Regions from separate parts of the Homo sapiens genome. Here region 2 is linked to region 1. The links are contacts of gene promoters, found by promoter capture Hi-C in human tissues and cell types (Jung and others, 2019). All regions are on one chromosome and are shown on one strand. Each heading gives the region's core, a stretch centred on a gene start or on the middle of the fragment in contact. The rest is flanking DNA. Distances are from core to core; before and after follow the strand shown. Region 1 overlaps TPM4 (tropomyosin 4). Region 2 holds the start of CIB3 (calcium and integrin binding family member 3).

Evidence for each region. Contacts are between HindIII fragments. The study calls those that stand out against the background at their distance.
Region 2: the fragment with the promoter of CIB3 here is called in contact with a fragment that was not itself captured in region 1 in 4 of the 25 tissues and cell types used here (dorsolateral prefrontal cortex, lymphoblastoid cells, small bowel and 1 more).

Annotation. Positions count from the first base shown.
Region 1 is chr19:16,086,578-16,093,329 of GRCh38, forward strand. TPM4 (tropomyosin 4) reads left to right here. Exons shown (of 8, transcript NM_003290.3): 4 at 1,450-1,520; 5 at 2,468-2,543. Among named protein-coding and RNA genes, the nearest start is that of TPM4, 13 kb to the left of the region's middle. The HindIII fragment of the contact is 7,259 bases long and covers 1-5,008 here.
Region 2 is chr19:16,168,762-16,175,231 of GRCh38, forward strand. CIB3 (calcium and integrin binding family member 3) reads right to left here and starts at 4,764. Exons shown (of 6, transcript NM_054113.4): 1 at 4,664-4,764; 2 at 4,401-4,435; 3 at 869-980. The coding sequence starts at 4,714. RefSeq lists a silencer at 57-351. The HindIII fragment of the contact is 31,728 bases long and covers 1-6,470 here.

The DNA of each region.
Region 1 (6,752 bases), core at 129-2,628:
GGGAGGAAATGCATCTGCTGAGATAGGGAGGACACCGGGGCCAACGAAAGGAAGCTCTCGGTTAGGTCAGCTGTCCTCCTGCGTGAACATATGTTTGTCCAGAGACAACCACTTGGCTAGGAAACTATCTCCCACGATGCCAGAAAGTGCTGCGGACGCTTGTCTAACGTAATGGGAAAACCGAATGATCAGCTCACTTGTGTCGTTAGCTGGGAGTTTTGGCACAGTTGGGCAAAAATGGAGGATTGTGGTCCCAAGCCATGGAGTTTCAGACCATGCAAGCTCAGGCCCTCCTTTGCCTCCCTCGATGGCTCGGCTCTTCCCTCCCGCCTCTTGTCTGCCTCGCTCCTCAGGCTTGAGGAAGAGAATCAGGATTTCCTCCAGGCCCCAGGATGGCTCTTTCAGTTGAAGCGCCAGCAAAAGGCCAGGCGCGGTGGCTCGTACCTGTAACCCCAGCACTTCGACCGAGGCGGGAGGATCACCTGAGGCCAGGAGTTTGAGACCAGCCTGGGCAACATAGTGAGACCCCATTTCTAAAAATAATAATAATAATAATTAGCTGGGTGTGGTGGCATGCACCTGTAGTCCCAGCTACTTGGGAGGCTGAGGCAGGAGGATCGCTTGAACCTGGGAAGTCAAGGCTGCAGTGAGCTCTGACCACGCCACTGCACTCCAGCCTTGGAGACAGAGCAAGACCCTCTGTCAAAAACATAAAAGGGCTGGGCATGGTGGCTCACGCCGGTAATCCCAGCACTTTGGGAGGCCAAGGCAGGCAGATCACCTGAGGTCAGGAGTTCATGACCAGCCTGGCCAACGTGGTGAAACCCTGTCTCTACAAAAAATACAAAAATTAGCCGGGCATGGTCGTGCATGCCTGTAAGCCCAGCTATTTGGAAGGCTGAGACAGGAGATTCACTTGAACCCAGGAGGCAGAGGTTGCAGTGAGTCAAGGTTGAGCCACTGCATTTCAGCCTGGGTGATGGAGCGAGACTCTGTCTCAAAAGAATAAAAAAATAAAAAAGAGGCCAGGTGTGGTGGCTCATGCCTATAATCCCAGCACTCTGGGAGGCCGAGGTAGGTGGATCAGGAGGTCAGGAATTCGAGACCAGCCTGGCCACTACGGTGAAACCCCATCTCGACTGAAAATACAAAAATTAGCTGGGCGTGGTGGCACGCGCCTGTAGTCCCAGCTACTTGGAAGGCTGAGGCAGGAGAATCGCTTGAACCCAGGAGGTGGAGGTTGCAGTGAGCCGAGACTGTGCCACTGCACTCCAGCCTGGGCAACAGAGGGAGACTCCGTCCCCCTGCAAAAAAAAGAAACACCAGAAAAACCCATGTTGCAGCTGGTCTAGGGGTCTGGGTGGGGCATCATTGGGGGCTGTCTGCAGTGGATGGGAGAGGACACGGCTGGTGGGGATCGGGCTCAGCTGGGCCTTTCTGTCTCTGCAGGTAGCTCGTAAGCTGGTCATCCTGGAGGGTGAGCTGGAGAGGGCAGAGGAGCGTGCGGAGGTGTCTGAACTGTGAGTGGCAGAACAGGACTGAGCGAGGCTGGCTCGATTCCTGGGGCGGAGTGGGAAGGAGCTGGCTGTGTTGGGAATTGGCTCTGACCGGGGTCTCTGCTCAAGTGGACGGGCGTCAGGGGCTCATGGCTCATCTTTTCTCTTGGCTTCTGTGACAAAGAGGTGGTGACTTGTTCTTACTGCCATGGGAAGCACTGCCCACGTGTTGACCCTTTCTGCAAAGATATGAGGAAATAGGAGTGAGACAGGAGGCAGCAGGGAAGCCCAGAAGTCCCATTTTCCCAGAGAGGATATCTCAGGGGGCTGTGCCATCTTAACAGAACACTGACCTGCTCCAGAAGGCAGGCTCCCCCGGTCAGTATGTAAATGCTTTTGCTCCTGTCAGTGTTTGGCCGTGACACATTCCTGGCGGGAAGGTGAGAAGCTTAACCAGAATCCCACAAGCAAGCACCGAAAAACAAAACACCTGTCCTCTTGGCCCCGGGTGAGGAATTCAGCCCCACAGAGCATCCGGGAGTGCTGAGAGAGATCTGGTTTCACAAATCCACTCCGGGCTTCCTTCCCGGAGTGTCCCCTGCAAACTCCCATTGCTCTCTGCCCGCCTTCTGCCCTCAGTCCCATTCTTACACCTTCCGGAGTCGGCCTCATCAATCATAGATTTCACAAGTCCTTGCAGCCTTACCCTTGGCAAAAGACCAGGAGTGTTTTCCAAGCCCTCCAAATACTCTTCGGGCGCACCTCGCCTCTGCCTGGTATGATAAGCCTTTGATAAGCCCATAGTATCACACTGCAGAAAAATCCATTAACATTTTCTCCCCACATTCCTTCTGCCCCCCACCGGGGGAGCTGTGTAGGTTTCTCCTTTGGAAAATTTATTGTTGGGGCGATTGCTATTATTGCCGGCTGTAAGGGAAGATAAGACACAAAAATCCTTTGTCTTTGTGCAGAAAATGTGGTGACCTGGAAGAAGAACTCAAGAATGTTACTAACAATCTGAAATCTCTGGAGGCTGCATCTGAAAAGGTAGGTGGTTGGCTTGAGCTGGAGGGTGGCTTGCTGGACTTTGTTCTTTTCTTCTCCCGAGGGATGCAGGAGCCTGTCAGGTTATGGGGAATCTGCCCTTTATTTAACAGTAGCGTTGGTGCCTGGCAGCCAGGGTTTTTCCCCTACAGAAAGAGCTGGATTTCTCCTGCACACTCTTGAGTCCTCTTCCATGGGGTCTGAGCACCATCTTTGATCTCCATCTCAGGAGGATAGAGATAGAACATGAGGCTCTTCTTAGCGAGATCTGAGCATAGTTGTATAAATAAATACAGAGCCTGCCTCTCACCTGATTCCCCTGGTTCCTCCAGAAATACCATCTCAAAGGTATAGCAATGATCAGAGGTGGAATTGGGCTTTTTAGTTTGAAACAGCACCCAAAGCAGTTGCTACGTGGCAGCTACGTCGGGAACAAAGGACACACTTCCACGGCCGAACCCCACTGAATTTCCCAGCCTCTTCCTCATTCTTGCTCCTGCTTTTGCAGTTTCACAGACATTCTTTGTTCTCCCATCACCTCCACCCCCCACTTTTTTTTTTTTTTTTTTGAGACAGAGCTTCGCTCTGTTGCCCAGGCTGGAATTCAGTGGCATGATCATAGTTCATTGCAGCCTTGAACTCCCAGGCTCAAGCGATCCTCCCACCTCAGCCACCACCTGCTATTCACTCAACTGGGTGTGGCTTTCCTTTTGCTTGATAAACCCCTATTCAGCCTTTTTTTTTCTTTTCTTTTTTTTTGAGACAGGGTCTCACTCTGTCACCCAGGCTGGAGTGAAGTGGCGTGATCTCAGCTTACTGCAGCCTTCGACTCCCAAGTTCAAGCAATTCTCCCACCTCAGCCTCCCGATTACACGCTAATTTTTATAATTTTTGGTAGAGATGAGGTTTCACCACATTGGCCAGGCTGGTCTCGAACTCCTGATCTCAAGTGATCTGCCCGCCTCGCCCTCCCAAAGTGCTGGGATTACAGGCATGACCCACTGCACCTGGCCTAGAGATGAGATCTTGCTCTGTTGCTTAGGCTGGAAGTGTAGTGGCGTGATCATAGCTCACTGCAGGCCCCAAACTCCTGGGCTTAAATAATCCTATCACCTCAGCTTCCTGAGTAGCTAGGACTTGCAGGCATGTGCCACTACTCCAAAACTGTATTTTTTTTTTTTTTTTTATAGAGCACAGTCTATGTTGCCTAGGCTGGTCTTAAACTCCTGGCCTCAAGTGATCCTCCCACCTTAGCCTCCCAAAGTGCTGGGATTACAGGCGTGGGCCACCGTGCCTGGCTAATTTTTCTAGTTTTTGGTAGAGACAAGGTTTCATCATGTTGGCCAGGCTGGTCTTGAACTCCTGGCCTCAAGTGATCCTCCCACCTTGGCCTCCCAAAGTGCTGGGATTACTTTGGGAGGCCGCCGAGCCTGGCCTCCTGTTCATCCTTTGAGCTTCTGCTTAAACATCACTTCTGAGAGTCCTTCTCTGATTTCTCATCTAGGTTAGGTATTTCTCTGCTGTGTAGCCCTGTCTATACTTTTGCTGGCATTATGATTTCTTACATTTATTATAGTTACTCCATTAATTGCATGCCTTCCTTGCTAGATTGTAAGTTGTAAGGACAGGAACCATGTCATCTTGTTCAGAGTTGTGTCCCTAGTACTAGCATTGTGCCTGGCATATATCTGTAGTGTGTGTGTGTAATTTTTTTTTTTTTTTTTTTTTTAGTAGAGATGGTGTTTCACCATGTTGCCCAGGCTGATCTCAAACTCCTGGCCTCGAGTGATCCACCTGCCTCTGTCTCCCATATGTGCCAGCCCTGGCATATATCTGATACTAGGATGTGTAAGGAATGAATCCAGTTGGTGTGTGTATGCCAGACACTGCCCCGGGCCAGGGGGATAGATGTAACACCACTAATACCTCAGCTGCTTTGTTTTGTTTTGTTTTGAGATGGAGCCTTGCTCTGTCGCCCAGGCTGGAGTGCAGAGGCACGATCTCAGCTCACTGCAACCTCCACCTCCTAGGCTCAAGCAATTCTCCTGCCTCAGCCTCCTGAGTAACTGGGAATACAGGCGCACACACCACGCCCAGCTAATTTTTGTATTTTTAGTAGAGACGGAGTTTCACCATGTTGGCCAGGCTCGTCTCAAACTCCTGACCTCAAGTGATCCACCCACCTCGGCCTCCCAAAGGGCTGGGATTACAGGTGTGAGCCACTGTGCCCAGCCTGGCATCTGCTCTTGAAGAGCTCAGAGTCGAGTCTAGTGGAAGGGATTGACAAAGTCACAGAGTGCTTTGGGAATACAATAGAGGGACCTTGGTAGGTTGTGAACGGTGTCACCAAGGAGGCGACATTTAAAACAGCTGTAGGTCCAGCACGGTGGCTCATGCCTGTAATTCCAGCACTTTAGGAAGCCGAGGCGGGAGGATCGCTTGAGCTCAGAAGTTCGAGACCAGCCTGGGCAACATGGAGAGATCCCGTCTCTACCAAAAATACAAAAACTAGCTGGGCATGGTGGTGCATGCTTGTGATCCTAGCTACTTGGGAGGCTGAGGTGAGAGGATCACTTGAGCCTGGAGGGCGGAGGTTGCATTGAGCCAAGATTGCCCCACTGCACTCCAGAGTCAGGCTTCAGTCATGACTTGATCACTTAATAGCCATGTGACCCTAGGCAAAATAATAACTTCACCTTTCTGTGACCCTTTCCTCCCCTATAAAATGGGATTACAGATACCAGGCTGTGATGCCATTAACTATGTCTGGCCCATGGTAAGCAGCTAATAAGTGTTAGTTATTATTGGGAGGCCGAGGCAGGCGGATCACCTGAGGTCAGGAGTTCGAGAGCAGCCTGGCTGGCCATCGTAGCGAAACCCCATCTCTGCTAAAAATAACAAAAATTAGCTGGGCATGGTGGTGGGCGCCTGTAGGCCCAGCTACTTGGGAGGCTGAGTCAGGGGAATTGCTTCAGCCTGGGAGGCAGAAGTTGCAAGTCACAGTGAGCCGAGATCGTACCACTGCACTCCAGCCTGGGTGACAGAGCAAGATTCTGTCTGAAAAAAAAAAAAAAGAAAAGAAAAGTATAATTTCTGATGGGTCATCATGGGGAGGGGAACATTCCATGCTAAGGGGTGCATTCATGGACAGGGACTGGGACTCAGGAGTCCACAGATTATGATCAGGGAGTGCCTGTCACCCTGGGGAAGGTGGTGGAGAATGGGGTTGGAAATACAGAGGGGGCCTTGAGTAACAGATTCCCAGTTATCTCCCTTTCTTCGCCATACTTTTTATCTCAAGTTCTCAGTTTAGGCCTTCTGATCAATACCATCCTACAGGACTCTCCCCAACATCCTCCACATTTCACACATATTTCTTCTGCTGGGGAAAGGTGCCTGCCTCTACTCTGCCTACTTTTTTTTTTTTTTCTTTTTGAGATGGAGTCTCACTCCATCGCCCCAGGCTGGAGTGCGGTGGCGCCATCTGGCCTCACTACAGCCTCCACCTCCTGGGTTTAAGCAATTCTCATGCCTTAGCCTCCTGAGTAGCTGAGATTACAGGCACCCACCACCACACCTGGCTAATTTTTGTATTTTTAGTAAAGACAGCGTTTCGCCATGTTGGCCAGGCTGGTCTCGAACTCCTGACCTCAAGCGATCCACCCGCCTTGGCCTCCCAGAGTACTGGGATTACAGGCGTGAGCCACCGTGCCTGGCCTGCTTACTTCTTTTTATGCTTCTTCCTCCTTTTTTTTGAGATGGGGTCCTGCCCTGTTGCCCAGGCTAGAGTGTAGTGGTCCAATCAGAGCTCTCTGCAGCCTTGAATTCCAGGGTTCAAGCCATCTTCCCTCCTCAGCGTCCCCATTAGCTGGGACTACAGGTGCTCACCACCATGACTGGCTAATTTTTAAATTCTTTGTAGAGACGGGGTCTCACTATGTGACCCAGGTTGGTCTCAAATTCCTGGGCTCAAGTAATTCTCCCACCATGGTCCCCCAAAACACTGGAATCACAGGTGAGAGCCACCACACCCAGCCCTCCTTTTCTTTCTTTCTGTTTTTTTTTTGTTTTTGTTGTTGTTGTTGTTTGTTTTTTTGAGATGGAGTCTTACTCTGTCACCCAGGCTGGAGTGCAGTGGCGTGATCTCGGCTCACTGCAACCTCCACCTCCCAGGTTCGAGTGAGTCTTCTGCCTCATCCTCCCCAGTAGCTG
Region 2 (6,470 bases), core at 3,514-6,013, 86 kb after region 1:
TGGGGGGAGATTCCTGAGCACATCATCAGAGGCCCTGGTTCCAGCTGTACCTGACACTGTCCCTGCCTCTGGATTTTTTTGTTGTTGTTCAGGGGCAATCCATTTTGATCCAAACCATTCTGTCCCTCTCAAATAAGGTTTTTGTCACTTGCAATAAAATCAACCCTACTCACAGTCAGTTACTCAACCCACAAGTTCCCCTTGGAGGCACAAACCATGTGTCAAACATCCTGCTGATAAAAACCTGCATTTAGCAGCTCCTGTTACAAGAAGAACTAACGTTCTCTGAGTACTTGACACACAACACACCCTGTACTGAATTTGTTGCCTGTATTATCTCGTTTCATCCTCCCAATTCTGGGTGTTTTTTGTTTGTTGTTTGTTTGTTTGTTTGTTTTTTGAGACAGAGTCTCACTCTGTCGCCCAGGCTGGAGTACTGTGGCTAGATCTCTGCTCACTGCAACCTCCACCTCCTGAGTTCAAGCAATTCTCCTGCCTCAGTCTCCCTAGTAGCTGGGATTACAGGTGTGCACTACCACGCCCAGCTAATTTTTGTATTTTTAGTAGAGACGGGGTTTCACCATGTTGGCCAGGCTGGTCTCGAACTCCTGACCTCAGGTGATCCACCCGCCTCGGCCTCCCAAAGTGCTGGGATTACAGGCTTGAGCCACCACACCAGCCAACTCTGGGTTTTAACCCTGTCTCTGTCACATTGTAGCTGTGTGACCATGAACAAGTGTCTTAACCTCTCTGAGTCTCAGTTTTCTTATCTTTAAAATGGGGATAACTGCAGCACTGACCTCAGAGGAATGCAACGAGAGACATCTCTACTATTTTTTACCCTGTTTGTCCCATGGCCTGGGCATACCTTCAGCTCGGGCATGCTGCCAATGAGCTCGTAGGGCACCTTCACATCGGGGCAGGTGGTATAGTCGAGGGGCACGAGCTGTGGGGCCAGGTCCTGGTAGCGATAGAAGAGCCTGATGTGGGGAGGAAAAAGCTGGGAAAGACTGGGAGCAGGGAGCAGGCAAGACGCTTGTCCCTTCTTTGTTTTTTGAGACAGAGTCTCGGTCTGTCACCCAGGCTGGAGTGCAGTGGCACAATCTCGGCTCACTGTAACCTCTGCCTCCCGGGTTCAAGCAATTCTCCTGCCTCAGCCTCCCAAGTAGCTGGGATTACAGGCACACCCTGCCACGCCCGGCTAATTCTTTTGTATTTTTAGTAGCGACGGGGTTTCATGTTGGTCAGGCTGGTCTCAAACTCCTGACCTCAGATGATCCACCTGACTTAGCCTCCCAAAGTGTTGGGATTACAGGCGTGAGCCACCGCACCTGGCCAAGTCCCTTCTCTTTCACATTCACAGCTGCTCACTGCACACTGAGGTATACTGGGTCCCCAAGAACACTCAGCCCTGGGCCTGGACCTCAAGCATACAGAGCCTGACACAGGCACCCCTAACCTCCCTGGGGGCAGGGTCAAGGTGCAGAGAGGGCCACAGGACAAAGGGAGACTGGACTGGGGGAAGCAAGCTAGCGAGGAGAAGGGGGTTCCTGGAAGAGGGGACATTGGTTCTGGGCTTTGAAGCATGAGTAGGAGCTTCTAAAGCAGATGGAGTTGGGAGAAGGGAGGGTGCTTATGGCCAGATCACAGCAAGCATTCAGAGAATCCTATATAATCCACACATCTCTGGATATTGTCATGTTATCAGCAAGACCCTGCCTCCAAAGATACCTTCACTTTCATACCTTCCCTTCCTCTCCTTATAATGGGAGGAAGAGGCCGGATGCAGCGGCTCATGCCTGTAATCCCAGTACTTTGGGAGGCCGAGGCGGGTGGATCACCAGAGGTCAGGAGTTCGAGACTAGCCTGGCCAACATGGTGAAACCCCATCTCTACTGAAAATACAAAAAATTAGCTGGGCGTGGTGACGGGCACCTGTAATCCCAACTACTCGGGAGGCCGAGGCAGGAGAATCACTTGAACCTGGGAGCTGGAGGTTGCAGTGAGCTGAGATCGTGTCACTGCACTCCAGCCTGGGCAACAAGAACGAGACTCTGTCTCAAAAAAAAAAAAGAAAAGAAAAAAGAAAGAAAGAGGCCGGGCGCGGTGGCTCACGCCTGTAATTCCAGCACTTTGAGAGGCCGAGGCAGGTGGATCACGAGGACAGGAGATCAAGACCATCCTGGCTAACATGGTGAAACCCCGTCTCCACTAAAAATATAAAAATTTAGCCAGGCGTGGTGGTGGGCGCCTGTAGTCCCAGCTACTCCGGAGGCTGAGGCAGGACAATGGTGTGAACCCGGGAGGCGCAGCATGCAGTGAACCGAGATCAAGCCAGTGCACTCCAGCCTGGGCAACAGAATGAGACTCGGTCTCAATAAAAAAAATAAATAAATAAAAAATAAAAAAGAAAGAAAGAAAAGAAGAAAGAAAGAAAAAAAAGGAGGGATTCCTCAATGGGGCAGAGCAGAGACAAACAGCTAATAGTCACATTTTTTCTAAAGGGCAGACAAAAGATATTTTGCAAATAACTGAATACCACACACACTATCCAGATTATAAGGCCAGTTCTCCACTCAGAAGCCCTCACCTGTGACACCATACCTTCATTAGGGCATGCTGAGCAGCAGCCTTGCAGAGACCATCCTTGGTGGGTCTGAGGTCCCCAAGCTGCTAGGGACTGTCTCTGAGAGAGACATGAGTCCCTAGGTCATATGATGACTAGGAACTCAATGAAGGTGGGGTGGGGAGACCTAGAACTTTCATCCTGACCACTCAGTTCCCTGTCGGGGTCCCATCAGGGAATACCCTGGGTTTAGGTTTCTGTGTGGCTCTGAGCATGTTCCTCTCCTCTCCCTCTCTGTGCCTTGGTTATTCTATCTGATAAGCAAGAAGCTTGGGACAGACAAAATGTCTGTCCTTGGGGCCTTGGGGCTCTGTGCATTTACCCTTCAGCCTGGGATCAGCCCCGCCCTGTCTGAGCCTCAGTTTCCCCATCAGTAATTTGATCGTGATGGCCGAGGTGACCCTGCAAGCTGTCCTCACCCAAACAATGGGGCTCACTAGTAAAAGGTGTGGCCATCAATAATGGATGTCCTGTTACTACACAACTGGGGCCTTGGCCCCGATCACACTGCAGCTGAACCCTGGCCAGCTTGGGTTTCATAGCTCCAAGTTCATGGGTCGGGGCCCCTGGGCAATGGCCCCACAGGCCGAGTGATGATGTGGGATACTCATCTGTGCCCATCGTGCTGGGTCACGCCAGGGACCTGCAGCAGCCTTGGGCCACCTCCTCACACCCTCATCTTAATGCCAAGCCCACAACCCAGACTGGGCTCTGGACTTTGCACCTGGGCTCCCAGCCTCAAGTCCCAGTCTCAGGAGAATCTTTATCTTTCATTTTGTTTTTCTGAGGCAGAGTCTAGCTCTGTCACCCAGGCTGGAGCACAGTGGCGTGATCTCGGCTCACTGCAACCTCCACCTCCCAGGTTCAAGCAATTCTCCTGCCTCAGCCTCTTGAGTAGCTGGGATTACAGGCACCCACCACCTCGCCCAGCTGATTTTTGTATTATTAGCAGAGATGGGGTTTCACCATGTTGGCCAGGCTGATCTTAAACTCCTGACCTCAGGTGATCCACCCACCTTGTCCTCCCAAAGTGCTGGGATTACAGGCATGAGCCACCGCGCCCAGCCTCAGGAGAATCTTTCTAACGTGCTGATGGTCTCTCCCCTGCTCATGCATGCTCCATAGCTCCCTGCCACCCTTGGGAGAAAGCCCAAGCTCATCAGCCTAGAGACTGGGACAGTATGACAAGATGTGACTTGTCAGCTTCTCCATCTCTGCCTCTGTCCACTGACCACACCTGCCCCCCTTCCCCATTTGAGTCCCAACAAATTGGAAATACCAGTTGGGCATGGTGGCTCACACCTGTAATCCCAGCACTTTGGGAGGCTGAGGCAGGGGGATCGCTTGAGCCCAAGGGTTTAAGACCAGCCTGGGCAACATAGTGAGAGCCCCATCTCTATAAAAAAATACAAAAATGAGGTACATGTGGTGGCTCGCACCAGTGGTCCTAGCTACTCGAGAGGCTGAGGTGGGAGGATCACCTGACCTTGGGAGATCGAGCCTGCAATGAGCCATGATTGCACCACTGCACTCCAGCCCAGGCAATAGAGACAGACCCTGTCTCAAAAAAAAAGAAAAGAAGGAAGGAAGGAAGGAAGGGAGGGAGGGAGGGAGAGAGAGAGAGAAAAGAGAAAGAAAGAAAGAAAGACTACTTACACACACACACACACACACACACACACACACACACACACACACCAAATTGCAAATATCCTCCAGCAATGAATAGAAAGTTGTTTTTCCAGATCTTCTCTCCCTTCCTCCCTGGACTGACCTCATGATCTCCTTCCTTGTGAAAAATGTGCAGTCCTGTGGAGAGAGGTGTTGTCTTAACCCGAACCCTGCCTCTGGGGCCTCCTCCCACGGCCTCCTCCCTCCACCCCACACTCACACAGATGGCCTGATGCTGCCACACACAGAGCAGAACCAGGAACCCAGGCGGACGGTACACCCAGATGAAGGCATTCTGTTCCCATTTCCCAGACCACGGAACCAAAGTTGTCAAACCCACTGAGGACCCATCCTGCCCCCCTCTACCTGATACGCTTCCAGCTGCTCGTGTGTGAAGACTGTCTGCTTGTTGCCCATGGTGTGAACCACAGCCCAGACTTGGGGATGCACCCCAAAGGCTCCCAGCTTCCTCGGGGCCACACGGGTTGCCAGGCTGTTGTGTACCAGTGTCTGGGCAAATCTCCCTGCCCTGGCTGTCACCCACCCACCTACGCCATCACCCCCTGCTTGATGAGACTCAAATTACAGCCAGGCTCTCTGGACAACAGCCTGAATGTGTCCATGGGTAAGGATAAGGGCTGTGGGATGTCACAGAGAAGACCTCAGTGGGGAGGCCACATCTGCCACCACAAGGTGAGGCTGGGGTTATGGGGCACACTCAAGAGACAGGCAGGGTATACAGAAGGGCTATGGGCACACTGCAGCTCAAATCCCAGCTCTCTGCCCACTAGCTGTGTGGCCCTGGGCAAGTCACCTGACTTCTCTGAACCTCATTCATGAGATGAAAATTACATTATACCTACCTCATAGGGTCATTCTCAGGATCTGAGATTTAAAAAAAAAAAAAAAAGGTTTTGACTGGGCAAGGTGGCTCACACCTGTAATCCCAGCACTTTGGGAGGGCCAGGCAGGCGGATCACCTGAGGTCAGGAGTTCAAGACCAGCCTGGCCAACACGGCAAAACCCCATCTCTACTAAAAATACAAAAATTAGCTTGGCATTGTGACACATGCCTGTAATCCCAGCTACTCCAGAGACTGAGGCAGGAGAATTGCTTGAACCCAGGAGGTGGAGGTTGCAGTGAGCCGAGATCCCGCCATTGCACTCCAGACTGGGTGACAGAGTAAGACTCCATCTCCAAAAAAAAAAAAAAGGTTTTGGCTGGGCGAGGTGGCTCATACCTGTAATCCCAGCACTTTAGGAGGACAAAGCATGAGATTCACTTGAGGCCAGGAGTTCAAGATCAGCTTGGGCAGCATGGCAAGGCCCTATCTCTACTAAAAATACAAAAATTAGCTGGATGTGGTGGTGCATGCCTGTGGTCCCAGCTACTCAGGAGGCTGAGGTGGGAGGATTGCTTGAGCCCAGGAGTTTGAGGCTGCAGTGAGCCATGATTGCATCACTGCATTGGGAACATAATGGTGAACAAGCTAGATGAAGTTCTGGGGTGTGCATTGACATTATTATTTTATTACATTTTATTTTTTTGAGACAGTCTCACTCTGTTGCCCAGGCTGGAGTGCAGTGGTGTGATCTCGGTTCACTGCAATCTCTGCCTCCCAGGTTCAAGTGATTCTCCTGCCTCAGCATCCCAGGTAGCTGGGACCACAGGTGTCCACCATGCCAAGCTAATTTTTTTTGTATTTTTTTTTTTTGAGACGGAGTCTCGCTCTGTCACCCAGTCTAGGGTGCAGTGGCGTGATCTCGGCTCACTGCAAGCTCCACCTCCCGAGTTCAGGCCATTCTCCTGCCTCAGCCTCCCGAGTAGCTGGGATTATTACAGGCGCCCACCACCACGCCTGGCTAAGTTTTGTATTTTTAGTAGAGACAGAGTTTCACTATGTTGGCCAGGCTGGTCTCGAACTCCTGACCTCAGGTGATCCACCCGCCTCGGCCTCCCAAAGTGCTGGAATTACATGTGTGAGCCACCTCGCCCGGCCCAAAGGGCAGATCTAATGTAGCAGCTACCAACTTTATTAAGGCCCAGAATCCTCTTGGGTGGAGAATCTGAGAGTCTAAATTTCTTAGCCTGGCCCTCCATGCCCTTCTCACTTTGGGTCTCACCTGTGTTTTCTCTACCTGGCCTGGACTATTGCAATGTTTCCCAGCAGGC